2 separate regions of the Homo sapiens genome follow, and region 2 is linked to region 1. The links are contacts of gene promoters, found by promoter capture Hi-C in blood cells and fetal thymus (Javierre and others, 2016). All regions are on one chromosome and are shown on one strand. Each heading gives the region's core, a stretch centred on a gene start or on the middle of the fragment in contact. The rest is flanking DNA. Distances are from core to core; before and after follow the strand shown. Region 1 holds the start of CD86 (CD86 molecule). Region 2 holds the start of FBXO40 (F-box protein 40).

What was found. Contacts are between HindIII fragments. The CHiCAGO score rates a contact against its expected background, and 5 or more counts as called.
Region 2: the fragment with the promoter of FBXO40 here is called in contact with the fragment with the promoter of CD86 in region 1 in 8 of 17 cell types (naive CD8 T cells, endothelial precursors, erythroblasts and 5 more); the score reaches 11.1 in naive CD8 T cells.

What each region holds. Positions count from the first base shown.
Region 1 is chr3:122,053,994-122,056,826 of GRCh38, forward strand. It overlaps CD86 (CD86 molecule), which reads left to right and starts at 1,369. Exons shown (of 7, transcript NM_175862.5): 1 at 1,369-1,510. The coding sequence starts at 1,497. It also overlaps a transcript of ILDR1 not described here. The HindIII fragment of the contact is 6,821 bases long and covers 1-1,401 here.
Region 2 is chr3:121,592,129-121,595,215 of GRCh38, forward strand. It overlaps FBXO40 (F-box protein 40), which reads left to right and starts at 1,251. Exons shown (of 4, transcript NM_016298.4): 1 at 1,251-1,374. RefSeq lists enhancers at 608-1,807, 621-1,271, 1,272-1,923 and a silencer at 1,194-1,488. The HindIII fragment of the contact is 3,467 bases long and covers 1-2,697 here.

The DNA.
Region 1 (2,833 bases), core at 119-2,618:
AACTTATATTATTGCTGTCTTCATTTTTTAAAATTCTCAAATCCAGATGAAATTATCAAAGTTGATAAAATAATCATTGTTCTATCTTCTTATTTGAAGATTAATAATTGTGTTGATTTTGCTTCCTTGCTCTAGTTAGCAGTGATGTCATCTGCTATTTTTAAACTTCCTTGAAATAATATATGTAATCTACTTCTAATAAGTTTTTCTTATTTAGCATTTTGGTCTAAACTAATTTATAATTATTTAGCCTTATTTCTCCATGTTTAACTTGCTTTAAAGCTCAGCACTGGTGTTTTCAGCCATGGCTTCTCCATTTTAAGGCTATTTTAATTCATTTATTATTCTGGAATATATCCTTAAATAATTTATTTAGGAAGGCTGTCTTGGTGGTGGTATTTCTGTTGCAGTTGTTGTTTTCTTGCCTGCTTGGTGACATATTTCTATTGACTTGACACTTAACTGGCATCTTATCTAGGTAGATAATGCTAATTCAAAATTCTGCAGATATTGTTCTGTTGTTTTTTGCCATTTAGGGTTGAGTAAGATGCCAAGTTGTTTTTTGTTTCTCTGTAGTCATTCTGTTTTCATTTTGTTTTTAGCTTTGCCTTTGGAATTTAAAATGTTCAAAATGATTTGTCTGGATGAGAATCGATTTTCATAACTTTTGCTTTGATACACTAAACAGTTTGAGTTTCTAGATGATGCCCATTTTAATTCATACGAGGAAATATCTTCTAGTATAGTTTCTGCTTGATTAATTCTATGTTTGTCTCTTAGGGACATCTATTAATTTTATAATGCTGCCTTTTTTTCAGACTTCTGTTTCAGAATATTCGCTTTCATCAATGTAATCCTTGGCTATAGTAGGAATGAAATAATAAAAGCAGTAGCTTCTGTCTGCCCTCCTTGGTTATGCAGTCCTTACAGAACATCTCCCCATCTCCCATCCCCCCACCCCAGCTCAGTGAAACTCTCCACACTTTGGTTGTGGAAATTGGCAGGGTTAGGTGGCTACTCACTCCCAATCCACATCCACAATAAATCACTTTTTATTATCTTATCAAAATCTGTAGAATGCCTCTTTATTCTATTTTGTTGCTGCGGAGGTTTGTTTTCTCTTTCTAATTATTTTATTTTCTAGGTTTTTTGAGGGAATTTCAAGAGGGGAGATTTTTTATTCAGGCTCATCTTAACGTCATGTCTGGAACTCAAGCTACTGAATTATATATTCTTTAATACATATAGACCTACGTCAATGAGTTTAAACTGCAAGGAAAGGGTTAAATTTCTTCCTCAAGTGTGGTCAAAATCTGTAGAGAAAAGAGGAACAGCTTCTCTTAAAGAAAGTTAGCTGGGTAGGTATACAGTCATTGCCGAGGAAGGCTTGCACAGGGTGAAAGCTTTGCTTCTCTGCTGCTGTAACAGGGACTAGCACAGACACACGGATGAGTGGGGTCATTTCCAGATATTAGGTCACAGCAGAAGCAGCCAAAATGGATCCCCAGTGGTGAGTAATAATTCTTATTCTTTGCAGAGAAGTTATGAGTTGTGACTGCAGTGAAAGGCTGAGGTTGAAGATGGTGCTTTGATGTGTGTCCTTCACTTAGTTCCTAAGTGGAGAAGCTTTCTTTTTCTACAAAAGATCTTTGGCACATAAAGGCAAGAATTATTTGCAATGCCCAAAGCAGTTCATTGGTGGTAGTTATATATATTTTTAGGTGCCTAATTTTGGTTTTGTAAATCTGTTATTCAAATACTGAATGTTACAGTCATTGATTTTAGTGAAGAATCAGGAATTTTTAAAATATCTGCATAAGAATGACAAATAACAGGGAATATGTTTTTTGTCTACCAGGGTCAGTTTGGTCTGAGGGTGGAGGAATGAGATAGAGAAGGTAGAGGGAGAGAGATCAAGAAAAAGAAAGAGAAAAAAGAGGTATAAGGAGAAAATGCAAAACTCAGTTAATATGTCATAATCAGGCCATGGGAGATTCTGGGCAGGGTTGGGTAGTGGAAGGAGGTAGAGTGATTAAATTAGTTACCATGTATTGAACATGCATGATGTGCTGGGTACTTTACTAGTGCTATTTCATTGAATTTTATTCTTCACAATGACTTTTGGAAAGACATCATCATTCTTTTTGACAGATGGGGTAACTGTGGCTTAAAAAACTTGCCCAAGTTCACACTATTCATAAGGGGTAGAGCTAAAATCTTTCCTGCCCGCTTCGTGGTGCGCCAGAAGGTTTCTCCATGCTGTGGAGACTTCCTGGAAGGAGTCACACCCGCCCTTCTCTTGGGTGGTGGCAGCTGGCGCCAGTCACTATGTATTTATTTATTTTTAATTATTTATTTTTGAAACAGAGTCTCGCTCTGTCGCCAAGCTGGAGTGCAGTGGCGCAATCTCAGCTCACTGCAACCTCCGCCTCTCGGATTCAAACGATTCTCCTTCCTCAGTCTCCTGAGTAGCTGGGACTACAGGCGCCCACCACCACGCCCGGCTAATTTTTGTATTTTTGGTAGAGACGGGGTCCACCATGTTGGCCAGGATGGTCTCGATCTCTTGACCTTGTGATCTGGCCACCTCGGCCTCCCAAAGTGCTGGGATTACAGGCGTGAGCCACCGCGCACCCGGCCGTCACTATGTATTTATAATTACTGTTCTTTGAAAATCGAAGTAACTTTCATCTACCCAGTGCTTACTGGTTTGAGAAAAAGCTTTGTTGCTTTTATTTCAGAAGATTAAAATTTAATTTTCCAGTAAAGATTCCTTTTGCTCCAGTGGAATTTTGAAGCGTTATACTTGTATGAAGAAAAAAAGAATTTCAAA
Region 2 (3,087 bases), core at 1-2,500, 460 kb before region 1:
ATTCAAATACATTCAAATAACAGCTGGCATTGTGGAGCACTTGGCATGTGGTACATATCATTCATGTGCCTTATGTGTACTGACACAGTTACCTGTGGTCGCACCAAGTATCATCGCCATTTCACAATGGGGAAAACTGAAATAGAAAATGGTTAAGTAAATTTGTCAAAATCACATACCTAATCCCAGCACTTTGGGAGGCTGAGGTGGGAGGATCATGAGGTCAGGATTTCGAGACCAGCGTGACAAACATGGTGAAACCCCGTCTCTGCTAAAAATACAAAAATTAGCCAGGTATGGTGGTACGTGCCTGTAATCCCAGATACTCAGGAGGCTGAGGCAGGAGAATCACTTGAAGCCAGGAGGTGGAGGTTGCAGTGAGCCGAGATCACGCCACTGCACTCTATCCTGGGCAACAGAGCGAGACTCTGTCTCAAAAAAAAAAAAAAGAAAAAGAAAACACCAAAGCCGGGATTCTATATTTTTTTCACTCACAAGATCCTGAATGAGTTTATCTGAAGATGATAAGATAAAGAACGCTAGACTGAGAGTTAAACAAGCTCTCTGGGGCTTTCCTCTGGCTCTTCCACTAACGAGATGTGTGACCTTGGATGAGCAATTTCCCTTTTCTGAATCTCTGTCTCCTCATCTGTAAAAAGAGGGAGCTGGACTAAATGACAGCTAAAGCCTCCTACAACCTCTAATTCTCTCACACTGGATTTACTCTACACCTGGTATCTGAATTACAAACTCTCCCTTTTCCAGGAAAGATGAAAGGACCAGGGGAGGACAGACACTTACTTGTCACGACAAGAGATAGGAGAAACTGAAGCAGGACACCATGTCATTTGCACAAGTTGCTGCTTCAGCCAGTGATGGGTTTAGGTGAGGAGCATGGTTATAATTAGAGCAGCAGCCAGTCCTGAAGGCTGTGCCAGCCTCCTTCAGCACAGCTGGGCCTGCCGACTGCACATGCAGGAATCTGAGAGGCTGTTCTGGCCTTGAAAATGATCCTTCTTAAAAGGATTTTCCTCCTTCCTCAAGGGAAAGAAAACCTATTGATATAAAACTTCACTTCCCATTCAGTTTCCCCTGCTAAATGCCACTCCAGTAGAGACTGAGTGTTGATAAATACAGGGGAAGGAAAAAGTCGTAAGCTGAGCCTGGTCACATTGCCCCTTGTGATATCGTTTTATTTTTAACTTCGCAACACTTGGACTATTTCTGTTGAAGTTTTCTCTCCTTTCCCTGCCTTCCCAACAGAACGCTGTCCTCTACTGCAGCTGATGCAACCCAGCCACCTCCCGGCAATCCGCTTACTTGCAATCAAGGGTTCAGGTGCAAGCAGATGCTGACTCAGCCTGTTCCATTAAGGTAAGTATTCAAACAGGAGCAGGTGCACCATGACGAGGACATTCAGTGGTGAATATGCAGATGAAGCTGAGCCGCATATCACTTTTGTGTCCTGTGGAAGAGGATTGTTAAGCAAATTAGTTATGTAAAGATGTGGGGGAAAGGCTGGCACTGAGAATGAGATCCAGCCGTGTGTAAATTTCTGTTTCCATTTCAAGAGCAGGTAGAGTACTTGCTTTCTGACAGCTTAGGTTCTTTCTTCTATAATCAACAAGAGTAGTTATGATATCTGTAAAGTTACAACATGGTGATGGGTGGGGGGATCTGGGGAAGTGGAGGAGGTGGTGAGGAAACAAGTGGAAGGCCTAGAATCCAGGATTTCTATTCCCTTTTCTTTCTTTTTTGAGACAGTCTTGCTCTGTCACCCAGGCTGGAGTGCAGTGGCACCATCTTGGCTCACTGCAGCCCCTACCTCCCAGGTTCTAGTGATTCTCCTGCCTCAGCCTTCCGAGTAGCTGAGACTACAGGCACATGCCACCACATCCGGCCAATTTTTGTATTTTTTTAGTAGAGACAGAGTTTCACCTTGATGGCTAGGCTGGTCTTGAACTCCTGGCCTCAAATGATCCGCCCACCTCAGCCTCCAAAAGCGCTGGGATTACAGGTCTGAGCCACTGTGCCTGGCCCAGAATTTCTATTATTTATTTATTTATTTAATTCATTGTTATTATTTTTTTGAGACAGAGTCTCACTCTGTTGCCCAGGCTGGAGTGCAGTGGTGCAGTCTCAGCTCACTGCAACCTCCACCTTCTAGGTTCAAGAGAGCCTCCTGCTTCAGCCTCCTGAGTAGCTGGGACTACAGGCCTGTGCCACCACGCCTGGCTAATTTTTGTATTTTTAGTAGAGATGGGGTTTCACCATGTTGGCCAGGCTGGTCTTGAACTCCTGGCCTCAAGTGATCCACCCGCTTCGGCCTCCCAAAGTGCTGAGAATACAAGCATGAGCCGCTGTGCCTGATCAGAATTTCTGTTTTCTAAAGTCTAAATGCTGTGATCTTTTCTCCAGTCAACATTTGCTATGTTTGCTTGCAAGTCATTCTCATGTAGCTTAAAATTTCGTCTGCTGTGTCATACTACTGGTTAATAAGCACAACTGTATTTTCTGTATATACTATTCAAACTCCGCAGAGTTTAACACCTTTTTTTCGCCAACAATATTCTCTAAGTGTGGCCCTCTTCTCCCCAGCTCTCTTGAGTCCAAAATGCATCCATGAAATATAAGTGAAATATTTCTCAAGTTGAAAAACTTATATAGGCTTATGCACCAAAACCAAAGATTGTTACAAGCTTGAACAATTTTGCATATTCAGAGGGATAAAAGTAAAATGACTAATGATACTTGAGGTATCAAAAGTTATAACTTTAGACAGATAGTTTCTCGCTTCTGGAATAACTGTATAGTGTTGCATGCACTAAAAATTGGCAAGGTAAGGGAGCAGTGTTTATTTTCTTGTTTTTCACTGGTTCAAAGTTCAGCTAAGGACATCCTGGGAAGTGGCCTATGCAGCAAAAGGGATTCTGTACACTCTGACCTTTGATGTGTACAGGCTAAAGCCACCGATGCCAAGTAAAAGGAGACCTAAACTAACTATTCAGATACCTTAACTCCTGGTTCCTTCCTGCCTGTCTCTGTAACCTCCATATGTACCCCAAGACTCTGCTATAGGTGTCTGGG